Regions from separate parts of the Homo sapiens genome. Here region 2 is linked to region 1. The links are contacts of gene promoters, found by promoter capture Hi-C in blood cells and fetal thymus (Javierre and others, 2016). All regions are on one chromosome and are shown on one strand. Each heading gives the region's core, a stretch centred on a gene start or on the middle of the fragment in contact. The rest is flanking DNA. Distances are from core to core; before and after follow the strand shown. Region 1 holds the start of TMEM147 (transmembrane protein 147). Region 2 holds the start of LOC124904700 (a long non-coding RNA gene).

What was found. The method cuts DNA at HindIII sites, captures the fragments that hold promoters and counts their contacts. A CHiCAGO score of 5 or more calls a contact.
Region 2: a fragment that was not itself captured here is called in contact with the fragment with the promoter of TMEM147 in region 1 in 1 of 17 cell types (naive CD8 T cells); the score reaches 5.5 in naive CD8 T cells.

What each region holds. Positions count from the first base shown.
Region 1 is chr19:35,539,435-35,546,875 of GRCh38, reverse strand. TMEM147 (transmembrane protein 147) reads right to left here and starts at 1,250. Exons shown (of 7, transcript NM_032635.4): 1 at 1,060-1,250; 2 at 919-988; 3 at 291-350; 4 at 68-204. The coding sequence starts at 1,136. It overlaps GAPDHS (glyceraldehyde-3-phosphate dehydrogenase, spermatogenic), which reads right to left. Exons shown (of 11, transcript NM_014364.5): 5 at 4,467-4,557; 6 at 4,268-4,386; 7 at 3,850-3,931; 8 at 3,385-3,536; 9 at 3,049-3,211; 10 at 1,870-1,967; 11 at 1,557-1,778. The coding sequence ends at 1,706. TMEM147-AS1 (TMEM147 antisense RNA 1) reads left to right here and starts at 847. Exons shown (of 4, transcript NR_038396.1): 1 at 847-939; 2 at 3,603-3,965; 3 at 4,802-5,125; 4 at 5,292-6,138. RefSeq lists a silencer at 669-1,248 and enhancers at 941-1,633, 3,348-3,849, 6,244-6,743. The HindIII fragment of the contact is 5,741 bases long and covers 1-4,120 here.
Region 2 is chr19:34,966,822-34,974,262 of GRCh38, reverse strand. It overlaps LOC124904700 (a long non-coding RNA gene), which reads left to right and starts at 636. Exons shown (of 2, transcript XR_007067237.1): 1 at 636-1,079; 2 at 1,634-1,897. LOC124904699 (a long non-coding RNA gene) reads right to left here. Exons shown (of 2, transcript XR_007067236.1): 2 at 6,343-6,572. The HindIII fragment of the contact is 953 bases long and covers 1,158-2,110 here.

The DNA.
Region 1 (7,441 bases), core at 1-2,500:
CTCCAGCACCCCCGTGGAACCCAGGTGTCCCTTCTCAGGGGTCTGGGCTCCAGGCTGCTGTACGCACCGGGACATAATAAGCTCAGCAGTGGCCCAGCCCAGGGCAGCAACCATGATCTTGTACTCTCCCTTGCCGGCATTCCGGGACATGACAAGGTTTAGACCTATCAGGTCTGCCACATCCACGCTGGCCTTCATGAACTCCTGCGGGTCAGGTTGAGGCTTAAGTAAGCACAGGGGGACAGGGAGCCCCATTCCTGAACTCCCTTCCCTTCCCTGGCCCCTCTCACCCCAATGAAGTCATAGATGCCGCCTTCCCAGGTGGGAAAGAAAGTGGCCAAGAACAGCATCTGAGAACAGAAAGCAGAAAGAGGTCACTTCAAGGTGAGGGGATCAAGATAAACCACGTGGGATTTGTGGGAAGTTCGTGGGTAGGAAGAGGGCAGGACAGGTTCTGGGGGCCCATCTGGAAGAGGAACCACCAGATGGTGGCAAAATTACAGGAATCGGGGAGATAGAGGATAGGTCCCCGGGTCCCCGAGGGGGCTGGAAGTTTGAGTTCTGGGTGATCACAGGGCATCTGAGTCAGGTCTGAAGGTGCTGCTCCTTGGGCAGTGTTAGCAGCACGTACGGAATCAGTGATCACTCTTAACCGCACCAAAAAAAACCTGTTAGCCAACCACACTACTGAGGTTTTCTCAGTTTTACTAAGTGCTACGCAAAAGTTGCTTCTAGGTCTCTTCTCAGGTCGTGCCCTCTTTAAAGTCCATCCTCTCTAGGTATCCTGACGCCTCCCAGTGCGGAGTCCCGAGGGCGGTCCCACCGTGGGGCGGCGGGGGCGCGGATAGGCAACGGGGGCGGGTCCCTGGGTCTGCAGAGCCTGGGGGCCAGAACACGTGGCTTCCCGGTGGCCCTCACCTTGCAGAGTTGGACAAAGAGGTAGGTGACTCCAGCCTGGACGCATTTCCAGAAGGCGTTGTACTCGGACCTGGAGAAGCGGGAGGTGAGGGTCGGCCCGGGCCCCGCGCCCTCTCCGCCCCGCGCCCTTCCCGCACTCACAGGCCGCTGCACTTGTAGGTGATGAAGTAGGGGAAGTAGGCAAGAGCGAAGCAGTTCCCGAAGTGAAACAGGGTCATGATGCCGGCCGCCCGGTCCCGCCCGCGCGGGGATCGCGAGGCGGCGTCTCCGGGAGCGGGTCTCCGGCTCCGCCGGCTCTTTCGCCACGGCCAGGGCCTGGCACCCACCTGACTGGCGGGGGCCCGCGCGCGACCTTCTGGGAGCAGTAGTCCCGGCGCGGGGCGTCGCGCCCAGTGACGTCAGAGAGCCCGTGGCCGGCCCTGGGTCCCACCGCTGCCGGCCCAGCGCTTTGGGGAGTGACTTCCGGCCATGCGGGGCCTCTACCGCTGCCATCGCGGTCCCGGTCTCCTGAAGTGGAACCCGGCTTGGAGTCGAGCGCGACCCCTCGCCCGTGGGCGCAGGCGATCGAGTAAGGGTGGGGCGGGCCTCAAACCCGGATCAGAACCCGCCCTGACCGGCGCAGAGATACGGGACGCAGCCGTGAGCACTGTTTTTTATTTCACCATGGACCCATCGGCGTGGGGCGCCCGCCCCGGGTGTCCTTCCTCCCCCGGGCAGCCAGATGCTGGAACGGGAGGCACATGTTCCGGCCCCGGCCCCTGGGAAGGAAAGAAAGGACCTTCCCGTTTCACTTGTCTCGGCTGAACATGTAGCGGAGGAGGTCGACCACCCGGTGACTGTAGCCATATTCGTTGTCGTACCTGTGGAGGAGGGGTCGGGAGGTTCAAGGGGGTTCCTTCCGACCACCCCTTAGTTCCCCTCCCTCTAAGTCTCCAGCTCCTTCCCCCTTACCATGAAATGAGCTTCACGAAATTGTCATTGAGCGCAATGCCGGCCTTAGCATCGAAGATGGACGAGTGGGTATCACCGAGGAAGTCCGTAGAGACGACCTGGAAGTCAGAATTTCAAAGATAAGTGTGTCCGGCAGAGCAAGGACCTCCAGGAGCTGAGGCCCCGACTCTTAACTCTATCGCCCATCCATGCATTCATCTATAATATTTGATGTAGCCCTACTGTGTCCAGTCTCTGGACTGGAGGGTATGACCAAGTGCAGGGTATGACCAAGGCACTGTGTCAGGGTCTGGCCAAAGGGCACAGGTCACAAACACCCTCATGCTGTACCAGTACATCCCTTTCCTAGGAATAATGCAAGCGTTTGGAATGGGCCAGCATGGAGGGCCTCTCTGAGGGGTGGCCATGAGCCTGGGTCTAGATGACTAGAAAGATCTGACCGGCTGGGGCCCTCAGCACAGTGTCTGAGGTAGAAGGAGCTGCAGGAAGGGAGGACCTGAGGGTTTTAGCCCTAGTGTCATGAAAGGCCACAGGAGTGTTTTCAATCCTGAAAACGGGTGATGCAATGTGATTCCATTAAAACAAAAGATCCCAGTGACTGTGGGAAAGTGGACCTGCAGGAGTTAATGCAGGGAGACAGCACCAAGGTGGATGTACAGGGGTCCACCATGACCATGGCATCCACTCCTCACAGAGAAGGCATCTGGCCATGGCCTGGCCCTGAGCAAGTATTGAAAAAAATGGGAGCTGTTGTCTTTTGTTCACTAAGCATGTATTAGTCACCTGCTGTATGCCAGGTTGGAGCCACAAAAGTGAAAAGGCAGCCCCTAAATCCCTGTTTTCTTGGAGTGCACACACCACTGGGGCCAACAGTGACTATGAAATGAAATTTCAGGTGAGGAATATGGCCACAAAAAGAACATATTTTGAGGGGGTGCCTTGCTGAAGAGGGAGGTTCCTCCAGAGACTTGGAGGAAGTAAGGACAGACTGTATGGTCACCTGGCAAGGGAAGCATTCCAGACTAAAGGAACAGCAAGTGCAAAGGCCCTGAGGCAGGGAGATCTCCCTTCCTGCCCTGCAGTTTCTGACTTGGCACATTGAGAGCAGCTCCCTGGCAAGTGGAAATCATGTCCCTTCCCAGAGGGCTCCTCCCAGGGTCTCCTCTCCTCAGCCCCTACCTCATCCTCGGTGTAGGCAAGGATGCCAGCCATGGGCCCCTTGGCTGCTGCTTTTACAGCCTCCTTGATGGCTGAGTAGGGGGCAGGCTGGGCGAGGCGGCAGGTCAGGTCCACGACAGACACATCCGGGGTTGGTACCCGGAACGCCATCCCTGTCAGCTTCCTGGAGAATCCCCCATGAGGAACAGGAGTCAGAACTTAGGGACGTTGCCCTCCATTCCCCCTTTCCCTGTGGCTGGGCCAGGCCCCTGCTTTCCTCTTAAGGACTGAGGGCCGGGCCAGTCCAGTCCTCCTGGCGTATGCCCCCACCCTGGTTGCAGCTTCTTGTCCTCATACCCTTTGAGCTCTGGGATGACTTTGGTCACAGCTTTCGCAGCCCCAGTGGAGGCTGGGATGATGTTCTGGTGGGCACCCCGCCCATCTCGCCAGGCCTTCCTTGATGGCCCGTCCACTGTCTTCTGGGTGGCCGTGTAGGAATGGACTGTGGTCTTGGGGAAGAGAAGGACCAAGATGAGGCCTTCATGCTCCTAAGCTCCCATGCCTCTTTTTTCCAGGACTAAGTTGGTGGCCTAGGTGTGGAGGCTGGTGGGGCCACCACCACAGACCACAGGAGGGGATGTGTGCAGGCCAGGGTCCAGCCTTGCCTGAGGGTTGCACAGTGTTTTAAGTGACTTCTGCACTGGTGGGCCTCTCCTCCCGAAACCAGTCTCTCCCTCTTAACTCCATACAGTAAGCAAGGCCCGGGAAGAAGTTGGGTTTCCCTGCCATCCTTCCTGCCCCAGCCCCTCATCCTCAACTCACCATCAACCCTTCCACGATCCCAAATCGCTCGTGGATGACTTTGGCGAGGGGAGCCAAACAGTTGGTGGTGCAGGACGCGTTGCTGAAACAGCCAAGGTGTGCACGGACACTGTGAGGTGAGTCGCAGAGCCACCCCTCCACCCTTACCCCTCTTGGGGTATGCACGCAGACTTGGTTTTATGAAACGTCAGGATGAGGGTGAGAGGGATCTGTGGGGACACTGTCAGACTGAAGGAGGCACTGAGGTGCAGCTGGGGAGGCTCCCCAAGCTTGTCCTCTGGAAGTCATGCGTTTTTAGCAGATAGTTTCGGGAAGGAGAAGCAGAAGCCAAGCGACCAGGAATCCAGTGGGGCTGAGGGTGGGGAGGACGAGTCTACCCTCCCTTCCACACATTGCAGGATGTCACTGCCCACATTACCTCACAATGTTCATGGAGCCAGGGTTATAGTCATTTTCATTGACACCCATGACGAACATTGGTGCATCCGGTGAGGGCGCGGAGATGACCACACGTTGAGCACCTGCAGAGATGTGGTCCTGGGGAGGAAGCGCAGGTGTCAGGGGCTTCTGGCACCATCATCCCCCCAGCTAGCCCTGGGCACCTCTCCCCAGCTTACCGAAGCTGCCTGTATGGAGAGGTACACGCCTGTGGACTCCACCACGTAGGGGCTCCCGACAGCCCTCCAGGGGATCTGTTTGGGCTCTTTGCTGTGGGGAAGTGGCAGGGCTGAGTCAGTCTCCCCTGCTTGAGCCCCACCTTCATAGTCCATGGCTTTCACCATTTGACAGGCTGAGCAGGTACCGGCCCACCTGCAACCACCTGCGTCCCCTACCCCACACACCTACTTGTTCCAGATGGGCTCCACCCCGCTGGCCTAGCTTTTCACCACTGCCCCACTTCAGACCACTTTCCCTTTGCTGATTGCACCACCCCTGTTATGCCTGGGTACAGGTGGTGACCTCCCCAACTCAGCCCTCAACCTCCTCAGAGGCGCCAATGCTGACTGCTGTCAGCCAGCCCAGACCCTTTCTCCATATGCTGCCCGGGACGTGGACTCTGTGACTGTGAGGCCTGCCCGGCTGCTTTCTGCTTCCCAGCTCTGACAACCTCGCCATGAACCCTCCTAGACCCTCAGCTCCTGCAATAGGAAGCTGGCTGCCAAAGGCCAGGAGGGTCCCTGAAAACAGACACTGCATTAAAGAAAAAGCTCCTGGAGGACTCCTGAAGCCTGAGGCAGCCTTGGGGCAGCAGTGGCTCATGGTTTACATTGGAAAGGTAAGGGAGGTTTCTGGTTTCCTGTTTTATAAATTTATGTTTTTACTTGGTATTTTGACAAACATTTGTATTTGAAGCACACTAAACATCTAGTATTGCCGTTTTCTACTTGGCTTTAGCAAACAAGCATTAAGTGAATAAACTGTTCCACTTTCTTCCTTCCCAGGTTTATCATGAGTAACCGGGTGCTTTGCTTCTGTGATTCTTGGCCAGTGTCGGTCTGTTTCCTTTGCCATTGAGCCTGCTCCCCTCAATGGGGGGTTCAATCAATGTTTGTGGGGTTTGTTTGTTTTGAGACAGGGTCTTCCTCTGTCGCCCAGGCTGGAGTGCAGTGGTGCAATCAGAGCTCACTGCAGCCTTGATCTTCCTGGCTCCGGCCATCCTCCTGCCTTGGCCTCCCGAGTAGCTGGGACTACAGGCGCACACCACCATGCCAAGCTAATTTTTAAATTTTTTTGTAGAGATGGGGTCTCACTTTTGTTGCCCAGGGTGCTTTAGAACCCCTGGGCTCAAGTGATCCTTGACCTCCCACAGTGCTGGGATTACAGGTGTGAGCCACCGTGCCTGGCCTCATGGGTTTTCTTTGTTTTGTTTTGTTTTGTTTTTGAGACAGAGTCTCACTCTGTCACTCAGGCTGGAGTGCAGTGGCACGATTTTGGCTCACTGCAACCTCCACCTTCCGGGTTCAAGCGATTCTCCTGCCTCCGCCTCCCGAGTAGTTGGGGTTACAGGCATGCGCTACCACACCTGGCTAGTTTTTTATTGTTGTTGTTTTTTGTATTTTTAGTGGTGACGGGGTTTGCTCTGTTGGCCAGGCTGGTCTCAAACTCCTGACCTCAGGTGATCCCCACTTCAGCCTCCCAAAGTGCTGGGATGACAGGCATGAGCCTCTGCACCTGGCCTCGTGTTTTTTTTTTAGTTAGCCATTTTATACGTGTTTACTGAACACCTGTCCTGTGCCCATATTCTAAGTGCCTTACCTGCATTAAACTCATGTAACCTTCACAACCCGATGAGGAAGTGCTACCGCTGTCATTTTTTGCATTTTTTTACTGCTGTCAGGGCAGAGGGGAGGGGAGTGAGAGGGAGAGCCTGCTGGAGTGCAGGTGGCTGGTCCCACCTCGGGTCTGCACTCCTGTTTCCACTGCCTGAATGAATGAATGAATGGGCTGCCCTGCAAAGCCATCACACATGCATGGTTATCCTCTTCCTGTCTCCTGCTCTGTCAGTCCACTTTCCATCATCTGGCCCAACGAGCTCTTCTCAGATACCCCCCATTTCCTGCCTTCCAAATTAGGGACACTTGCGATTCCTCTGCAACAATTGCTGAGTTGGCCTGAGGCAAAGACTGTGCCCCCAGAAGACCCCAGGCCCTCCCCAAGGCTGTCATGGGCCCCAGCCTCCTGCCCACCAGGCTGTTTTGAGGATTCCATTCATTCATTCAAAGGAAGTTCTGAATGGCTATCAGGGCCTGTACCTGCTAATGCCAGAGCAACAGTGGTGGTACCAGTTGACAGAGCCCTCCGTGCAAGGCCATGGCCTTGTGGGAAGTGCCCGTTTAAGTGTCCACAAACACATGTTCACTCCATTCGTGCTCCCAGCTACCGCTGTGGTGGGTTTGCTCATCATCCCCATCAGATACAGCGGGGAACTGAGGCTCAGGCAAGTTTGGTTCCTTGCCCAAGGTCACCCAGCTAGCTAGCGGAGGTGCAGGGCAGAGTGCAGGCACACAGCCTGGCTTGTGCAGCCCAACAGTGCGGGGATGGAGAGGGGGCTGGAGGGGCGGGGAACTGCATTGCACAAGTGACCAGAGAAGGCAAGACCTGAGTCGGGACCGTGGACGGAGGGGGCAGCTAGGTGGGGAAGAGGGATGACTCCAAGTGGCGGTAATGGTGGTGGCCACGTTGAAGTCTGCGTGATAACTATGGTGCTGGAGTTGTTTCTAGTGTCATGATTTCAAACTTGGGTTAAGCAGCTTTCTTCAATTTTCACTGACTCTCCAGTCTCTGCCCCCTGCCCACAAACTTCCTGCACCCATCCCTGCCCCTTTATCACTCACCCTACCCCCAGTAAGTACAAGGAGAAGGGCTGAGATTAGATCTGTGGGGAGGGGCGCTGGGGAGGCTGCAGACCCTGCCTGGGCCCAGACAGGGTTCACTAGTGTGCCTGTGTGTATTTGCATGTGTGTGGGCCTGTGGGTGTGTATGTGTAAAAGCCCCAGGCAGCCACAGAGCCAGGAGTCGCTAATAGTTTACATTAGAAAGGTGAATGTCAGCCAAAAATAAAATTCTAAACTCCCCCAACTAACTGAATGTA
Region 2 (7,441 bases), core at 385-2,884, 570 kb after region 1:
CATGTTTGCCCTGACCGCACCTTTATCTGAAGGCCCCTGAGGGCTGAGGTCTTGCATTCCAGGAGACCCTTGAGGGTCAGGGTTTATGTGTTTCTCCTATGCCTACACACACAGGTGGTGTGGAGTTGTTCCATAGCACAGTTCCATTCATACACAAGGTTCTTACAGTGTGCAATGACCCAGGCTTGCAGCCCTTCTCAACCTTAACTGCACAGTAAAATCCCCAGGGAAACTTTTAACAATCCGGGCAGCAGGCTGCACCCCAGACCAATGCAATCAAAATCTCTGGGGGTAGTCCCTTGCATCAGGGATTTTAAAAGTTCCTCTGGGCCAGGCGCGGTAGCTCACACCTGTAATCCCAGCACTTTGGGAGGCCGAGCTGGGCAGATCACTTGGGGTAAGGAGTTCGAGACCAGCCTGGTCAACATGGTGTAACCCCGTCTCTACTAAAATACAAAAATTAGCCGGGCGTAATGGTGGGAGCCTGTAATCCCAGCTACTCTGGAGGCTGAGGAGGGAGAATCGCTTGAACCCGGGAGGCGGAGGTTGCAGTGAACAGAGATCGCGCCATTGCACTACAGCCTGGGCGACAGAGGGAGACTCCATCTCAAACACACACACACACACACACACACACACACACACACACACACACACACTTCCTCTGGTGGTTCTAACACGCAGCCAAGGTAGAGAACCACTGAGTTACAGCCTGGCCCTCAAGGGTGCACACCAATTGCCTGGGTGGGGGAGTTGACAAAATGCAGATTTTGATTCAGCAGGTCTGGTTTTAAGTCCTGAGGTTCTGCTTTTCAAACAAGTTCCCAGACGCTGCTGCCGCTGGTGGCCGGACAGCATTTTGACAGAAAGGGGCGGGAGCACAAGCAAAGTTCCCTGGGACCGGGATTGTGGTTCTAGTGCCCTCTGGTGGTCAGGACCTCCCTAGCAGCGCCCTGCAGAGAAGAACTGATGATAGAAGCCCTGGCTAACAGAATTTCTGGCGGACACCTGGATTTCAGCCTTGTAATGACCGGAGCAGAACCCAGCCAAGCCTGCTTGGACTCCTGACCTACAAAACTGTGAGATAATAAACGGGTGTTGTTTAAAGCTGCTAAATTTATGGTAATTTGGTGTGCAGCAATAGACAAGAACAAGCTTCATCGTAACAGGCCAGCTGAGAAACCCAAACCCACAGGCTCGGCCCAGTGACCTTGCACGTCTCTTCTCTAGTTCAGGGAGATGGATTCATTCCCAACCTCCTGCTCTCATGGGAGACGAGGTGGAAAGGATTGTACTTCTTGCTGCTTTATTTTTTCATGATTGCTGACTTCTTTTCATCCTACGATGCTTGTTGTCACTGACACCCGTGAAAGCTCAGGGGTGGGATGGTGGTGGGGTTGTTTGCTCTCTGTGGCTGATTGTATTTTCCAAAGGTGAATGCACGGATATATCCTATGCCACATGCCCTCCTTACAATGACCTCGATGACTTGATCTCCTTCATGGAGATATGGGATTTATGTTCCCATCCCTTCAATCTAGCAGGCCTGAGACTGTGGCAGGAGTGACCCCAGGTGACTTTGAAGGCTAAGTCATAAAAGGGGATAACTTCTGCCTGGCTCTCTCTTTCTCAGGGTGCTCATCCTCGGAACCCAGTCTCCATGCTGTGAGGAAGCCCAAGCAGATGCACAGAAAAGCCACCTGTAGGTATCCTGGTCACAGCCCCATCTGAGAGCCAGCATCAATTGCCAGACTTGTAAGTGAGAGAGCTTTCAGAAGGTTCCAGTCCCCTGTCTTCAAGTGGCCCAGCTGATGCTGAGTGAAGCAGACATGAGCCCCAGTGAGTCCTATCCAAGTTGTAGATTCGTGAGCAGAATAAACATTGCTTTGATTCTGGAGCAGTGGCTCGTGCCTGCAATCCCAGCACTTTGGGAGGCTGGGATGGGATGAATGCTTGGGACCAGGAGTTTGAGACGAGCCTGGACAACATGGAAAAACCCTGTCTCTACAAAAAATTAAAAAATTAACCAGGTGTGTTGGTATGAGCCTGTGGTCTTAGCTACTAGGGAGGCTGAGGCGGGAGAATCGCTTGAACCCGGGAGGTCAAAGCTTCAGTGAGCAGTGATTGCACCACTGCACTCCAGCCTGGGTGATAGACTGAGACTCTGTCTTAAAAAACACACAAACAAAAAACCCCAAACCAAAAAACCCCCACATCGCTCTAAGCTGTGAAACTTTGGGATGATTGTGGTGCAGCAAAAGACAACTAGAACACTGTCAGGTTTTTCCCGAGGACAAAACACTGAATTTGACCCTGTGTAGGGGTTGGGGTGAGGAAGCTTTGGTTTTGATAAATTACAGGTGAATTACCTGTTTTCCATTAATTACTATTTTTTGTTTTGTTTTGTTGAGATGGAGTCTCACTCTGTTGCCCAGGCTGGAGTGCAGTGGCACGATCGTGGCTTGCTGCAATCTCTGCCTCCTGAGTTCAAGTGATTCTGCTGCCTCAGCCTCCTGAGTAGCTGGGAGTACAAGTGCCCACCACCACGCCCAGCTAATATTTTGGATTTTTAGTAGAGATGGGGTTTCACTATATTGGCCAGGCTGGTCTGCAACTCCTGACCTCAGGTGATACGCCCGCCTTGGCCTCCCAAAGTGCTGGGATTACAGATGCGAGCCACCGCGCCCAGCCCATTAATTACTATTTTTAAAAGGCAGTCTCGTAAGAAACTAAGCACAGTGCTTATAAACCATTAGGAACTCCCCAGAAAGTTTTTGGAGTATTAGCATTTTTATAACTTTTTTTCTTTGCCACTTAATTCCCTTAAAAGATTCTCTCTTTAAATAGTTCTCAAGGAGAGTCCAGACCCGGGGGGAGGGTAGTTTGAGATATTTTTCTCTCGGGACCTCCCCACTGGTGTTAGGCAGACTTCTAAGAGGGCCTCCAACAACCTCCACCTCCTGTTTGGGTGCCCTTGTGTCATTTTCTTCCCTTGAGTGTGGGCCCGACTTTATGACTTTGCTTCTAACCCAAAGAATATGGCAAAGGTGGTGGGAGGTGGCTTCCATGATGAGATTACAAAAGATTGTGACTTCTGTCTTATGGCAAACTCAACTGCCTTCTTGGTTTGCTTGCTTTAATGAAGCAAGCTCTCCGTTCTGCAAGGCCCAAGAGGGAAGGAATTGAAAGCAGCTTCAGGCCAAAAGCCGGGGAAGAACTGAGGCCCTCAGTCCGACAGGTTGTATGAAGTGAATGAACTTGGAAGTGACCCCTTTCCAGTTGAGCCATGAGATGAGATATTTGTCCTGGCTGGCACCTTGATGGCATTCTTGGGAGAGACCATGAAACAGGGAACCCAGCAGAGCCGTGCCTGGGTTCCAGACCCACAGAAACGAAGAGATAATAAAAGGATGTTGTTTTAAGCCTCTGCGTTTTTGGATAATTTGTTGTGCAGCAGTAGGTTACTAGCACACCGACCCTCCTCTGACTCCTGCAAATCATTTCTGTGTCCGAATCCCACGCTGCCACCATGCTCAGGCTAACCTGCACCCACCCTCCCCACACACATCAGGCATCTCAGCTGAGTGCATCTCCATGAAGCATGCGTTTCAGTTACACCCACCCTGGGTGTCTGTACCTGCATTTGCTAAAACTGTGTTGGAACACTCGACCTCATTCCTCACCCCTTTGTGTTGGGAACAGGACCCCCAAAATCTGGCCATAAACTGGCCCCCAAACTGGCCATAAACAAAATCTCTACAGCACTGTGACATGTTCATGATGGCCATGACGCCCATGTTGAAAGGTTGTGGGTTTGCCGGAATGAGAGCAAGGAACACCTGGCCCGCCTGGGGCGGAAAACCGCTTAAAGGCATTCTTAAACCACAAACAATAGCATGAGCGATTTGTGCCTTAAGGACATGCTCCTGCTGCAGATAACTAGCCATACCCATCCCTTTGTTTTGGCCATCCCTTTGTTTCCCATAAGGAATACTTTTAGTTAATCTATAATCTATAGAAACAATGCTTATCACTGGCTTGCTGTTAATAAATACGTGGGTAAACCTCTGTTCGAGGCTCTCAGCTCTGAAGGCAGTGAGAACCCTGATTTCCCACTCCACACCTCTATATTTCTGTGTGTGTGTCTTTAATTCCTCTAGTGCCGCTGGGTTAGGGTCTCCCTGACTGAGCTGGTCTCGGCACTTTGTATCTTCTCTCCCAGAGCCTGTGTCCAATTCCGTCTGAAGCAGGGAAAGCCTCAGCCACACTGTCCACCTGATATAATTTGGATATTTGTCCCCTCCAAATCTCAGGTTGCAAACTGATCCCCAGTGTCGGAGGTGGGGCCTAGTGGGAGGTGTTTTGCTCACGGGAGCGGATCCCTCATGAATGTGTTGGTGCTGACCCCACAGTAATAATAGTTCTCCCTTGCTTCCTGCCATGTGATCTCCACACACCAGGTCCCCTTCACCTGCCATCATGAGTGGAAGCTTCCTGAGGCCTCATCAGAGGCTGATGCTGATGTCATGTTTCCTGTACAGCCTGTAGAACCTTGAGCCAAATGAACCTCTTTTCTTTTCCAGATAAAAATAAATTAGTGGCTGGGTGCAGTGGCTCACTCCTGTAATGCCAGCACTTTGGGAGGCTGAGGCAGGCAGATCACTTGAGGTCAGGAGTTAGAGACCAGCCTGGTCAACATGGTGAAACCTGTCTCTACTAAAAATACAAAAAATAGCCAGGTATAGTGGCGCACATCTGTAGTCCCAGCTACTTGGGAGGCTGAGGCAGTAGAATTGCTTGAATCTGGGAGATGGAGATTGCGGTGAGCCAAGACTGCACCACTGCACTCCAGCTTGGTAACAAAGCCAGACCCTGTCTCAAAAATAAATAAATAAATAAGCTGGGTGTGGTGGCACATTCCTGTGGTCCCACCTACTCAGGGGGCTGAGGCGGGAGGATCACTTGAGCCTGGGAAGTCAAAATGGCAATGAGCTATGATCATGCCACTGCACTCCAGAGTGGGCTTTAGAGCAAGACCCTGTCCCAAAGAAATAAATCAATAAAAATAAAAATAAAATTACCATATGACCCAGGAATCCCACTACTGAGTATACATCACAAGGAATTGAAATTGGTATGTCAAAAAGATATCTGCACTGCCATATTCATTGCAGCAATGTTCACAATAGTCAAGCGACTGAAGTGCTCATCAACAGATAAACGGATTTGTACAATGTGGTAGAGATACACAACTGAATACTATTTGGTCATAAAAGAGAAGAAAATCCTGTCAATTGGGACAACAAGGTTGAACCGGAGGACATTATATTAAGTGAAATAAGTCAGGCACAGAGGACAAATACTACATAATCCCACTCATATATGGAACCTAAAAAAGTTGTCTCATAGAAATAGAGTGAAATGTTGGTTACCAGAGGCTGAGGTTGCCAGGTGGTGGGAGTGGGGCAATGTTGGTCAAAGGATATAAAATTTCAGGTAGCTAGGAGGAATAAGTTCAAGAGATCTATTGTACAACCTGGTGACTGTAGTTACGGTGTATTCTTGACAAATGCTTAAAGAGTAGATTTTAAGTCTTCTCAACACAAAAAAGATAACTAAGGCTGGTGCCATGGCTCACACCAGTAATCGCAGCACTTTGGGAGACCAAGGCAAGGAGGAGTGCTTGAGCCCAGGAGTTTGAGACCAGCCTAGACAACATGGTGAAACTCCATCTCTGCAGAAGATACAAAAAACTAGCTGGGTGTTGTGGTGCACGTCTGTAGTCTCAACTTCTCGGGAGGCTGAAGTGGGAGGATGGCTTGAGCTCAAGAGGTCAAGGCTGCTGTGAGCCACGATAGTGCCACCGTACTCCAGCCTGGGTGAGAGAATGAGACCCTGTCTCAAAACAAAACAATGTGAAGTGATGCATATGTTAATGAGCTTGATTTAGTCATTCTGAAGCAGGATATTTCCCTGACCCCTTCTTGGATGGGAACTAGAGTACATGGGCGCTGTCAGGGACGAACTCCACTCGCTTGTTGTTCCACCCCTCATGGGGAGGGGAGCACAGGTGAGTGGGTGCAGGAGACAGGGTGAGGGCTTTTGGGTGCTGGCAAGAGCAAATTCCATACTAGCCCCACGGCAGTGTCTAGGGGAAGGTGCTGTGACCCCTGAAGCCCCTGACGAAGTGTTACAGTGCCCTTTTAGCTTTGCCATCCATGCATAGCTTAAGTGTTAACAGCTCAGTGGAGGGTCAGTGCGACAGCCTTTTGTACCCACACTCATGGCACCCAAGTTTTTGTCTGGCATCCAGGAGGAATGAGGTCACACAAACAAATTGAAGATGGTAAATGCAGGGGATTTTATTGCCGGTGAAAGTGGCTCTCAGCAGGAAGAGGAGCTGAAAAGGGGATGGAGCAGGAAGGTAATCGTCCCCTGAAGTTTGGCCATCCCTGGCCATCCTCTCCAAAGCTACGCTGTCAAGCTGTCCCTTTGAAGTCAGCCTGCTTCTCTCCAACATCCAACCATAGTCTCCAATGTCCAGCTGCTTTTCTTCTCTCTGCCGGCTGAGCCTGGGGTTTTTATGGGCATAGGATGGGGGGCAGGGTGAGCCACGGGTGGTTTTGGAAAAGGCAACATTTGAGTGGGAAAACAGGGATGTAAGTTCTCACTTTGGGCCGTGGTATCAAGATTTTCAGCTTGATGGACCTGGCCTCTTCTGCCCAGAATTTCCCTACCTCCTGTCCCTATCAATTCCACAATGTATCTATATTTCAAAACATCATGTTGCATACAATAATTATATATTATTTTATAAATTTAGAAAAACAAAAAAATGCAGCTATAAGAAAATAATAAAATAAAATCAAGTAGGCAAATGTTACTATGGTGTGCTTTCATGTAAAAATCATAACTATTCCCTCTGAGGCGGTACTTGCTGAGTTAGAGTCATTGTATATTTTGACAAACATCCAAAAGACTGCACAGAGGTGTCTCTTCCCTGCCGCCCCACAGCAGTGTTTGTAAGATTCTTGTGATGATGGTGTTGGTAATGACAATAGCTTTTATGCACCCAGCAGGAATTCTGTCCTGGGCCCTGTTATCTACCATTGTAACCACCCAATGGGTTCTTTTTGCCTGCTACAAAAAGACCACGGCATTGCAGTAAACAAAGTCTTTAACTGACACAGGGCCAGCCATGCCATGGGAGAAACAGAGTTATTACTCAACTTGATCTCCCTGAAAATTCAGTGATCAGAGGTTTTCAGGGATAATTTGGTGGGTGGGGGGCCAGGTAGTGGGGAGTGCTGATTAGTTGGGTTAGAGATGAAATCACAGGGAGTCAAAGTTGACTAACTGCACTGAGTAAATTCCAGGGTGGGGACCACAGGACCAGATGACCCAGTTTATCAATCTGGGTGGCACTAGCTGATCCATCGAG